Regions from separate parts of the Homo sapiens genome. Here regions 2 and 3 are each linked to region 1. The links are contacts of gene promoters, found by promoter capture Hi-C in blood cells and fetal thymus (Javierre and others, 2016). All regions are on one chromosome and are shown on one strand. Each heading gives the region's core, a stretch centred on a gene start or on the middle of the fragment in contact. The rest is flanking DNA. Distances are from core to core; before and after follow the strand shown.

Region 1 (4,144 bases), core at 764-3,263:
AGGTTGTGGTGGGCGAGATCGTGCCACTGCACTCCAGCCTGGGCAACAAGAGCGAAACTCCATCTCCCAAAAAAAAATAAAAAATAAAATAAGCACTCCAGGCATTTCTTATCCTCAGGGAAGCTTAGAGAGTACCGTGTATCATACTCTGTGAAACCCATGGAAGCTCACATTGGCTCCCACCTCTCCACACACACTCCTGCTCCCAGACTGCACTTAAAAACACCTGCGCCTGGAGGTAGCAGCCGCCTGAGCTACAGAGGAGGGCTTGAGAAGAGGGGAGAAGTGGAGACTCAGGGGACCTGGTGGCAGAGAGTTTCAAGCTGGAAAGTCAAGCCTGGCTCAGTCCACACAGACCTGCTGCTCTGTGGATTTGAGCAAGTTAATGAACCTCTTGGGGCTGATCCCCCACCTAGGGGCTGCTGTGAGGGCGCAGTGAGATCTCGAGGCCCACACATAGGAGCTGATTTTAATAGAGGAGGGAAGTCTGATCCTACACAGATTCCTGAGGAAAGGGAGACAGCAGGGGGTGGAGAAGGGCTGGAAGGGGGTAGTGGGAGTCCAAGTTTTTGGCACCAAATCAAAGGCACCTGGGGGGTGGTGGGGCTGGGAGCCGGGGGCCAGCTGGCCTGTCTGTCTCCCTGACCTCTCCCTGTTGCCACAGACCTTGTGGCCTGAGGCTGGACTATAGGTGTTTCCAGTGGCTGTCCAAGTTCATGAAGGTGTTAGTGTTTATTGGTGAACTTGAGGATGTTTGCATCCTTGGGGGTTGTTTCTGCTATGGGAGAAAGGGGATTTGTCCACCTGGTTCAGGTGGGAATCTGAGCCCAATGGGTGACCCTTCCGAAGAAAACTCAGATGGTCCTCCTCTCCCAGCACTCCCAGCCTTGCACTCTCTTCCCCTCCACTGTAGGGGTGGGGTCCCCCGGTTGGAGAAAAGCCTGGGGGCTAGCTGGGTGCTGCCCCCAGCTCCTCACTGCGTCCTCCCACTGAATCCCGAGAGGCATGCGCTATAAACCCACTTTACAGAGGGGAAAATGAAGCCTGAGGCCACGGAGCAGTGATGCGCAGGGCAGGGGTTCAAGTCTCATGAGGCTGGTAAGCCTGTCTGCTCCTGTGTCTTCCAGGGTCTCCTGGACCAAAGCCCCAGCCCCACCTACCCCTGCGGCCCCCGCCCTTGGGAAGTGAGGGAACAGTGTGGGAATGGAGGCAGCCCACCGGAAGACCTGGTTCCTCCGGCTAGAGTGAGTGAGTGAGTGTGTGTGTGTGTGTGTGCGCGCGCGCGGGCGCGCCGCCCTTGTTGAGAGACTAAGGAAGTAGTTTGCCCTCTCTTAACCTCTGTTGGCCGCTCTGTAAACTGCGGGCACACTCTGGCCTTCTCAGGTGGTGGTGAGGCTTCCCTGAGCTCTCGCCTGCGAAGTGGTCAGCACGTCCCCGGCAAGGTTCCAAGTGTCCTTGTTTTGTGCATCACAGGGAGGGCAAAGCTCACCTCACGCGAAGCGCCATGAACATCACTTTTACATGGAAGCCCAGCACCCCTGGGTTCTCCCTAAGCCCCTCCTAAGCCCGCCCACTTCCCGCCACTTTCAGGCTGCAGCCTCCGATGGCCCTCGTTTCTGCTCTTTCTACCGCGTGATAGCGGCGCGAAGCCCACCCAGCCCTGGGGGCGGAGGCCCGGTCTCCCCGCCATGGCAGTAAACCCCACTCTGCCAGCACACTGGCGGGTGTGGAGGGAGGGAGAGCGGCTGATCCCCTGGTCCCTAGATGGTGCACACGCCAGGAAGGGCGGTAGGGATACGGCACAGGTGTGAGGGTGCAGACGCTCCCCACTACCCTTTCCACCCCTCCCCCGCGCCCTCCGCTGCCTCCCTCACCCGGGCACGGCTGTCGCAGCAACTGGACAACGGTGACATTGGTGAGGACGATGTCGCGCTTCGACATGGCCTCTTATAAGGTTATCATTGGCCTGGACCTGCTGTGATGTTACCGAGGTGCGTGCGGAGCGCCAGGGCTGTGGGTCCTGGGCTAATTGCCCTGATGTCACAGCACCCAGTGACGTCACAGTACCCAGTGACGTCGCCGAGGGGCGGCGCCCAAGCCAGAGGCCTGACACCATCGCATCCCATCCCCGTAGAGGCATGGGACGTCAGCACGCTATGCATCACCGTTCCACGGCCACGCACTGCCGTCTGGAATGGAATCCCACTTTTTAAAATTATCATTTGTTTATTTATTTTGAGACGGGGTGTCACTCTTTCTCCTAGGCTGGAGTGCAGTGGTGCAATCATGGCTCACTGCAGCCTTGAACTCCTGGGCTCAAGCGATCCTCCCGCCTCGGCCTCCTGAGTAGCTGGGACTACATGTGCAGCCACCACTGCAGGCTATTTTTACTTTTTATTTTTTTGTAGAGAGAGGGTCTCACTCTTTTGCTCAGGCTGGTCTAGAACCCTTGGGCTCAAGCGATCCTCCCACCTCGGCCTTCCAAAATGCTGGGATTACAGGAGCGAGCCACCACACCCAGCCTGGAATCCCACCTTTTACACTGTTCCTGAAAGCCCTTTCCTCTTCTCTGTCTCTTGAAGCACACAGGTTCCATGCTGTCCCTTGGATTCTCCAGTGGAGTGACTCTTGCTGCCTCCGTATGCCTGGAAGGCCCACCCAGGGCTTCCCTTGGCTGCCTCTTGGTTTCCCACCCTTTAAGAGAGGCTTTCTACACTCTGCATCTAAGTTCCCTCCTTTCTCTGTCACTGTCAGCCGTCACCCCCTTCCCAATTTCTGCCCATCTTCCAGGAAGCCTTGTCTGACTTCTCCATTCTGAGTTATGCTTCAGTGTGCAAAATTTCTCTAGGGCTACACTGTCTATGTTTTTATTTTCCTTAGAGCACATGTCTCTCTAAAAATTGTTTGTTTTCTTGCCAACTGTCTCTGTCCACCAGACTGTAAGCTCTGAGAGGACAGGGACGTCATCTATGTCACTTCTGTATCCCATTGACAAGAAAAGTGTTTGGCACCTGAAAGGTGTTTGTGGGCTGGACGCAGTGGCTCATGCCTGTAATCCCAACACTTTGGGAGGCTGAGGTGGGAGGATCATTTGAGTCCAGGAGTTTGAGACCAACATGGGCAATGTGGCAAAACCCTGTATCTACAAAAAATAAAAAAAGTAGCCAGGTGTGGTGGTGCATGCCTGTTGTCCCAATTATTAGGGAGGCTGAGGTGGGAGGATCACTTGAGCCTAGGAGGTCAAGGCTGCAGTGAGCTGTGATTGTGTCACTGCACTCCAGCTGGGAGACAGAGCAAGACCCTGTCTGAAAAAGGCGTTAGCCCAATAAACTATACCTGAATGAATAAATGTCAATTCCTCAGGTTTCATCTGATCGCTAATCTTTTCTTTTCTTTTCTTTTTTTTGAGACAGAGTTTCGCTCTTGTTGCCTAGGCTGGAGTGCAATGGTGCGATCTCAGCTCACCGCAACCTCCGCCTCCTGGGTTCAAGTGATTCTCCCGCCTCAGCCTCCTGAGTAGCTGGGACTACAGGCGTGCGCCACTACACCTAGCTAATTTTTTTTTTGTTTTTGTATTTTTAGTAGAGACGGGGTTTCACCATGTTGGCCAGGCTGATCTCAAACTCCTGACCTCAGGTGATCCATCTGCCTCGGCCTCCCAAAGTGGTGGGATTACAGGCGTGAACCACCTCGCCCGGCCCTGATCGCCAATCTTATCAAACTCTTCACGTTATATCTTCTCGCAGCACCCATTCTTTTCCTTGTAGCTTTTCATGTAGTTTGTCATGATCTACTGATTGGTTTATTTGTTCGATGTCTCCCCCTTGGGCTCTAAGCCCCTCACAGGGCTCCTGTTCTTGTTTGTTTGTTCACGACTGTGCCTCCAGCACTTAGAACAATACAAAGCAGGTTTTCAATGAACGTCTGACAAAGAACAAGTGGACAAACAGCTCCCTCCCCTGCAGCCCCGGGGTAGGGGTTTGCTTGCACCTCAGTGACTCACAGGCAGGCACCATCACCTGCACAGCAGGTTGACACGCAGCTGTGACCAAGGTTCAGGGGGAGTGGGGGTTTGTGCCAGGAAGGAGTCACCATCCCAGAGAGGGATGGATGCAAGAAGGGGCAGAATGACATAACCTCTTCC
Region 2 (3,965 bases), core at 16-2,515, 280 kb after region 1:
TGCTTCAACAGGAACGCCACCTGTCACCAGCTTGACACTCGCAAGTATGTGGTTTACAGAGTGCCTGGCACACATTGTTCCTTAATTGCCAGGACCAGTGAGGTAGCCACGATAATCATGCCCATTTTATAGACCCGTGGGGCTGAAGTGGCAGGTGCACGGTGACACGGCCAGTTTCCTTGGACTCGCCCGCCATCCCTCTTCCCAGCCTGTGGCCTCTGAACCACACCAGTCCCCTCTTCCCTTTGCCATTCACCCACAACAAGGGGCCTCTGTGTGGCCTGGGCAGGCAAGCCCAGATGGCCATGTTGATGCCCCCAGCGCCCAAGGCCCCACTTCAAAACCGACTACGAAGGATTCCAGGTTACCCGGGGCCTTTTGAATTTGGAGGGAAAACCATGGAGTTGTTTGCCTGAACTGCTTTGCCATGGAGGGACTAAAGCCCCCACAATATCTCCATCAGCCTCCCACCACCTCACCCTACTCTAAAGTCATTTCAAATGACTGAACCAAAAGTGTCTCGGGAAAGACCTCATCACCACCCAAATATCCCATCCAGGTGAAAGCCTGCCAGCAGAAGTCGGTTTCAAGTCCGTAAATCCATCCCACCAGACTCTTACGCACGTATAATCCGGAGCCCGCGGGAGGTGGGTGGGGTGCGGGGGATGGGGAGTCCCCAGTCCCACACCCACCCGAGGCCTAGGCATTGTTCCTTCGTCTCTGTCCCTCTAGGAAGCGTCTGATCCAGCCCTCCCGTGCCCTCTCCCCGTTACTCCAAAACTTAGAAATCCCCGGGTGCGCCCAAGTCCCATCCCGGCTTTTCTTTTCCCAGAGATCGGGCGGTCTTCCACTCCCTCCCCACAAAGAGTTCCATTCTCCCTGCCGCTCCGGGTCTCACCGTCCAGGGAGTTTCACTTCCTGCTATCTTCCAGATAAGGGCGCGGGGAGCGCTCCCCGGCACAAATGGGGAATTCCTCTCACTCCCGCGCGCAACAGATCGCCCAAGACCCAGGGGATCGGAAGGTCCCAGCCTCTGAGACCCCCGCTTCCCGCTTCCCGCCGCCTCCAACTCCATCCATCCCCCTCTACAGTTCCCTCCGGCGTTCCGCAGCGTCAGAGGCCCCGTGCCCCGTACCTGTGCACCAGGTGCTAAGCAGAAGCCACACGAAGACGACCGCGTCCCGGCCTGCGGCGGCCGGGTGGGAGCCCAGCCCTCTGGAGAGCCCGCCGGCCAACAGCGCCATCGCGGCCGTCTGGGCGCGTCTGGCCCGCGCGTCCCTTCCAAAGTACCTTAGGGGGCGCGGCGCGCACCAAGGCCAGGAGGGGTGCACGCTCCTCCCCTTCCCACTTCCGTTCCTTGTCCCTACTCCAAGTCCGTCCTGTTGCATTCTGGAAGTTTTAATGAGCGTAAACGACGTGGACAAAGGGCATGCTTTCAGATATGGGGGAGAAAGGTGCTTGACCCGCCGCGGTCCTCCGAGCCACACTCCACCCGCTGCGCGCTCCGGTGAATGGTTCGGCCCAGGTACACAAGGGTGGGAGCCGAGGGCTGGGCTTAGGGGTGAGCGGCGGGGAGGGGTTCCTCTGCCTCCCTCCCCGGAAGTGGGCTGACCCAGGTGCGCTCCGTCCCCCAGGGCCCGAACCAAGTGACTGGCCCGCTGGGAGGGCGCCTGCGGACCACAGGTCCCTTCCGGCCCCCATCTGCTCCGGCCAAACCAAGCGCACCGAGATCCATGCAACCGAGACCCACTTGGAGCGATTCACCTGTTGAGATAGGGCGGGTCCCGCCGCGCACCTGTTCCCTCCCTGCCCAAACCCCTCTCCCCGGCTGGCGATGGACCCGCCTAGGTGCGCCCTGCCGGGAGGAGCGAGTCTAAGCAAAGTCCTGGCTGGGAGAGGCTTGTTGGTGGCGCCTGACTTCTCCACTTCCACTGGGGTTCCTCCGGACCGGGTGGAGGGGGGGCGCTTCGGGCCTCCTGTGTCTCCCAGTTAGATGACCTGAGGAACCCTCTAAAGTCCCCGGAAGGGAAGCTCTGCCCCCTCAGGGATGCCCAAGGGGAATCAGGGCCAGGAAAAGTTGGAATTCCACTTCGGAAGTTTTCGCCACCTCCCCCACCCGTTCCCAACTTGTGGTTCGGCCCCTGGGCATCCCTAGCCCCCGGGTCAGCCCTCCGGAAATTCTGGCTCTTAAAGGGGCCGAGCGAAGGCGCGGGGCTTGGGACCGGTTTCCGCTTAGGAATTCCCGGAACGAGCCACCTGCGACCGAGGGCGGGGGCGCGGCGCGGCGATCAGCCTGCGCAGCGCTGGGCGTGACTCTGCTGTCTCCAGGTGGCGGCGAGGGAAAGCGCATCCTGGGGGAACCCTGGGCGCTTCCTCGCGTTAGACTCCCCCAGGTTGCCAACTGGCCAGTGGCTGGTTTCGGTACCCAGGCGTGCTTTGTTCTACTGGCCCTGTTAAAACTCAAGCCAGATCACGTCCACCTGCTCACAGCCCTCCTGTGGCTCCTCCTCACTCTCAGCAGAAACTGACCTTCCCCCTCTTATCTCACCTCCTCCCACTCTCTCTGGCTTACTCAGCTTCGGACACCCTGGCCTCCTCGCTGTTTCCAACTATACTTCTCACAGTCCTCAGAGCCATCGCCCGTGCTACTCCCTCTGCCAGAACACCCTTCCCGCAGATGTCCACATGATCTTCCTCCTCCTGTAGGACACCATTGCAGTGACACCTTCCCTGGCCACTTTTTATAAAATTTCAACCCGTTCACGTCCCTTCATCGTTTAAAAAAATATTTTTATGATAAAATATGCAAACTATAATATTTATCGCTTTAACCACTTCAAGTGTAAAATTCAGTGGCATTAAGTATATTCACAATGTCGTGTACCAATCACCACTCTTTATCCCCGAAACTGTTTCATCATCCCCAACATAAACTCTGTGACCATTAAACAGTAACTCCCCATTCCCTGCTACCTGTGCCCCTAGTAATTTCTATTCTACTTTGCTTACCAAATTGCCCATTCTAGGTGCCTCATATAAGTGGAATCGTCTAACATTTGTCCTGTGTCTAGTTTATTTCACAAAGAATAATGTTTTCAAGGTCCATCCATGTTGTAGTATGTCGAAGCCATGTAGCATGCAGTAAGATCAAAATTTCTTTTTACAGCGGACTAGTGTACCATTGTATGTATATGCTACGTTTTATTTATCCATTCATTTGTGGATGGACCTAGGTTGTTTCTACCTTTTGACTATTGTAAATAGTGCAGCTGTGAACACTGGTGTACAAATATCTGCTTTCATTTCTTTTGAATATATGCCTAAGAATGGAATTGCTGGGTGACTTGGTAGTTCTATTTTTAACCTTTTGAGGAACTGCCAAACTGTTTTCCCCAATGACTGCACTATTGTACATTCCCACCAGCAATGCACGGAGGATTCCAATTTCTCCACATCCCCACCAAAACTTATTATCCATTTTCTTGATTATGGCCATCCTGGTTAGTGTGAAGTGGCATCTCATTGTGGTTGTAATCTGCATTTCCCCAATGACTAACGATGTTGAGCATATTTCCACGAATTTATTGTCCATTAGTATATCTTCTTTGGAGAAGTGTCTATTCAAGTACTTTGCCCATTTTTGAATTGGGTTGTTTGTTTTTTTGTTGTCAAGTTGTAGGAGTTCTATATATATTTTGAATATTAATCCCTTGTTAGATATATGATCTGCAAATATTTTCTTCCATTCTCCAGGTTTTTTCACTTTCTTGATAGTGTCCTTTGGTGCACAAAAGTTCTTAATTTGATGAAGTTCAATTTACCTACTATTTTTTCTTCCTTGTACTTTTGGTATCCTATTTATGCAGTTGTTGCCAAGTCCAATGTGATGAAGATTTTCAACAATATTTTCTTCTAAGAGTTTTATAGTTTTAACTCTTAAATTGAGTCTTTGAGCCACTTTATTT
Region 3 (4,088 bases), core at 66-2,565, 300 kb before region 1:
AAAAGACGAACAAATTAAACCCAAAGTAAACAGAAAGAAGAAAATAATAATGGTAAGAGCAGAAATGAATGAATTAGAAAACAGAAAAACAATTGAGAAAATCAATGAAACCAGAAGCTGGTTATTTGAAAAAAATCAATAACATTTATAAATCTGATTAAGACAAATAAAAGGGAGAAAATACAAGTTACCAATAACAGGAATGGAAGAAGGGATGTTACCACAGACTCCACAGACATTAAGAGGATAATTAGGGAATATTATGGATAACTTTATTCCAATAAATTCAGCAAGTTGGATGAGAAGGACAAATTCCTTGAATATGATGAATATGTTACAATTCTGATAGGCACAGTATTGTAGTGGTAAATCCTTCAGAGCCTGGTCCAGAGAAGCTTGGGTTCAAATCCCCTCTCTGCTACCTCTTAGTTGTGTGACCATAGGCAAGTGTCTCAGTTTCTAAAAATATATAGCACAGATCTTTGTGGCTCAGTTTATTTTTCTTTCTTTCTTTCTTTCTTTCTTTCTTTCTTTCTTTCTTTCTTTTCTTTTCTTTTCTTTCTTTTTTTTTTTTTTTGCAATGGAATCTTGCTCTGTCACTCAGGCTGGAGTACAGTGGCATGATCTCGGCTCACTGCAACCTCTGCCTCCCAGGTTCAAGCAATTCTCCTGCCTTAGCCTTCCAAGTAGCTGGGATTACAGGTGCATACCACCACGCCTGGCTAATTTTTGTATTTTTTAGTAGAGACAGGGTTTCACCATGTTGGCCAGGCTGGTCTCAAAGTCCTAACCTCAGGTGATCCACCTGCCTCAGTCTCTCAAAGTGCTGGGATTACAGACGTGTGCCACCACTCCTGGCCGCAAGCTTCTCCTTTCTGTTTTCCTCTTCCTGACAGAGCAGGCTTTTTCTCAATGGAAGTAAGGACACTTTTTCACCCCTACAATCTTCTCTGCTCTTCCCCCCACCCCACTCCAGTCTTCCCTTTGAACACTAAAACATAAAGTATGACACTTGCCTCCTTTGCTTTAGAACTTGTACCTTTATTAAGGGATCGAGAGCCCAAAGTCTTTTTTGGTTAACTCAACAAATTGATAATTCGGGTGAAAAGGACCTTGCACACCGAAAGTGCTCATCAACAGTTAATTTTTGGGCCAGGCATGGTGATGCATGCCTGTAGTCCCAGCTAATCAGGAGTCTGAGGCGGGAGGATAGCTTGAACCCAGGAGGTCGAGGCTGCAGTGAGCTATGATCATACCACTGCACTCCAGCCTGAGCGACAGAGTGAGACCCTGTCTCTTTAAAAAAAAAAAAATGGCCAGGCGCAGTGGCTCACGCCTGTAATCCCAGCACTCTGGAAGGCCGAGGTGGGCGAATCACGAGGTCAGGAGTTCGAGACTAGCCTGGCCAACATGGTGAAACCCCATCTCTACTAAAAATACAAAAAATTAGCCAGGCATAGTGGCAGGTGCCTGTAGTCCCAGCTACTTGGGAGGCTGAGGCAGGAGAATTGCTTGAACCCGGGAGGCAGAGGTTTCAGTGAGCTGAGATTGCGCCACTGCACTCCAGCCTGGGCAATAGAGAGAGGTTCAGTCTCAAAAAACAAATTATTCTTAGCATTAGCGTTACCATTAGAATTGCTATTAATAGTATTGTCATTATTATCAGCAATTTCTAGCTCTCTTTGAAATATTCTTAAGCAGTCATATACCAGTTCCCATGAATCTAATAGGCTTAAGAAGAGGCTGAGAAATATTTAAAGCTTATCTCAGATTCTTAGTGTTAAGTCACAATCTGTATATCCACCCCCCAGGTCTCCACCAGCCTTCTGGAGAACCTGAAGACCAGCTGCCCACAGAGCCACCTTCAGGCAAGTCCTCAGTCCCCTGATCCCTCCCGGCTCCCCTGAGAATGGAACCTCCTGGTCTCTGACCCTACCTCCTCTGCTTGTAGTCACAGCTGCTTAACGACTTAGTTCTGGCCAAGCTCAGTCGCTCACGCCTGTAATCCCAACACTTTGGGAGGCCAAGGCATGTGATCACTTGAGCCCAGGAGTTTGAGACCAGCTTGGGCAACATAGCAAGACTCCATCTTTGCAAAAATAAAAAATAGCTGGGTGTAGTGGCATGTGCCTGTAGTCCCAACTACTCAGAAGGCTGAGGTGGGAGGATTGCATAAGCCCAGGAGTTGGAGGATGCAGTGAGCTATGACTGAGCCACTGCACTCCAGCCTTGGCAACAGAGGGAGACCCTATCTCAAAAAAAAAAAAAAAAAAAAAAAAGACTTAGTTCTGTCCCTGCAGAATTGCAGACTTGCAGACTCCTTAGAGCTTCCTCTTTTTTCTTTCTTTCTTTCTTTTTTTTTTTTTTTTTTTTGAGACAGAGTCTCATTCTGTTGCCCAGGCTGGAGTGAAGTGGCAAAATCTTGGCTCACTGCAACCTCCACCTCCCAGGTTCAAGCGATTCTTTTGCCTTAGCCTCCCGAGTTGCTGGGATTACAGGCACCTGCCACCACACCTGGCTAATTGTTGTACTTTTTTAGTAGGGACGGGGTTTCACCATGTTGGCCAGGCTGGTCTCGAACTCCCGACCTCAAGTGATCTGCCTGCCTCAGCTTCCCAAAGTGCTGGGATAACAGGCATGAGCTACGGCACTCGGCATTTTTTTTTTTTATTTTTTTATTTTTTGAGATGGATTCTTGCTCTGTTTGTTGCCCAGGCTGGAGTGCAGTGGTGCGATCTCGGCTGACTGCTATCTCCACCTCCCGGCTTCCTCTCCTGCCTCAGCCTCCCGAGTAGCTGGGACTACAGGCACGTGCCAACACGCCCAGCTAATTTTTTGTATTTTTAGTAGAGATGAGGTTTCACCGCGTTAGCCAGGATGGTCTTTAACTCCTGACCTCATGATTCACCCACCTCAGCCTCCCAAAGTGCTGGGATTACAGGCGTGAGCCACTGCATCTGGCCAATTTTTTTTTTCTTAGATCTTCCTCTTGCCTGGAGTGATAAATTTTCTTCTCTTCCAAATTTAGTTTAATTCCGTAAGAATTAGCTCACTCCATGTCCTGTAAGAAGCCTGCATCAGTTAGCTTTTGCTGTATAATGAACCACCCCAAACATGGGTGCTTATAGCAACATTCTTCCTCATGATTCTGAGTCTGGCGGAACAGTGCTGGTCTGGGCTGGCTTAAATCATCTCTGCAGTCAGCTGGCAGCTCCACTGGACTGGGTGGTCTAGGGTTGCCCCCTTCCCACACTTCTGATAGTCATCTGGCTCTTGGTTGGAACAATGGAGATAACTGGGCGCGTGTCTCTTCTTGACTTTTTCACATGGAGGTGGTCACGGGGGTCAAAAGCAGCAATTTACTAGCTGATTCCGTCATAGTTGTGTCTCATTGGCCAAAGCAAGTCACATGGCTCAACACAGAGTCAGTGTGGAAAGGCCCCGCACTCAAGGATGTGACTACTGGGAGATGATTGCAACCATTTGGCAAAAAAATCCCCTTCAGAGCCCGAGAAAAAGGTTGCAAGTGACAGAAATGCAGCTGTTTTGTCAACACGAAAAAGAATGGCTTGGCTGGGCACAGTGGCTCATGCCTATAATCCCGGAACTTTGGGAGGCTGAGGCAGGTAGATCACTTGAGCCCAGACGTTGGAGACAAACCTGGGCAACATGGTGAAACCCCATCTCTATAAAACAAAAACAAAAAAAATTAGCCAGGCATGGCAGTGCATGCCTGCAGTCCCAGCTACTCAGGAGGCTGATGCGGGAGGATTGATTGAGCCCAGGAGGTTGAGCCTTCAATGAGCCGAGCTCACGCCACTGCACTGCAGCCTGGGCAACAGAGTTGAGACCCTGTCTCAAGAAAAAAAAGAAAAAGTCTTGGTATATGAAATAAAAAATTCCAAGTGTGGCCACTTTCAGGTGCTCAAAAATCTCACCAGCGATCTGTTTCTCACCCTCTCTCAACTTTGCCTTCATCTGTGGTGGCTTCTTTCTGAGTTTCTTCAATCAGAGGGGCAGAGAAGCCCTCCTCCACCTCCATCTTCTTGACAGCTAGTAGAATTGTCCTAAATGTTTTGTTAAAAACA

Evidence for each region. The method cuts DNA at HindIII sites, captures the fragments that hold promoters and counts their contacts. A CHiCAGO score of 5 or more calls a contact.
Region 2: a contact is called between the fragment with the promoter of LSR here and the fragment with the promoter of GAPDHS in region 1, in 4 of 17 cell types (monocytes, naive B cells, total B cells and 1 more). The highest score is 5.8, in monocytes.
Region 3: a fragment that was not itself captured here is called in contact with the fragment with the promoter of GAPDHS in region 1 in 4 of 17 cell types (M2 macrophages, neutrophils, M0 macrophages and 1 more); the score reaches 7.7 in M2 macrophages.

Annotation. Positions count from the first base shown.
Region 1 is chr19:35,531,325-35,535,468 of GRCh38, reverse strand. GAPDHS (glyceraldehyde-3-phosphate dehydrogenase, spermatogenic) reads right to left here and starts at 2,013. Exons shown (of 11, transcript NM_014364.5): 1 at 1,875-2,013. The coding sequence starts at 1,941. RefSeq lists an enhancer at 1,027-1,156. The HindIII fragment of the contact is 5,250 bases long and covers 126-4,144 here.
Region 2 is chr19:35,246,302-35,250,266 of GRCh38, reverse strand. It overlaps LSR (lipolysis stimulated lipoprotein receptor), which reads right to left and starts at 1,265. Exons shown (of 10, transcript NM_205834.4): 1 at 1,136-1,265. The coding sequence starts at 1,244. RefSeq lists silencers at 1,102-1,171, 1,582-1,661 and enhancers at 774-1,575, 1,576-2,378, 2,512-2,681. The HindIII fragment of the contact is 9,039 bases long and covers 1-3,965 here.
Region 3 is chr19:35,833,485-35,837,572 of GRCh38, reverse strand. It overlaps NPHS1 (NPHS1 adhesion molecule, nephrin), which reads left to right. Exons shown (of 29, transcript NM_004646.4): 23 at 1,812-1,868. Among named protein-coding and RNA genes, the nearest start is that of NPHS1, 17 kb to the left of the region's middle. The HindIII fragment of the contact is 895 bases long and covers 868-1,762 here.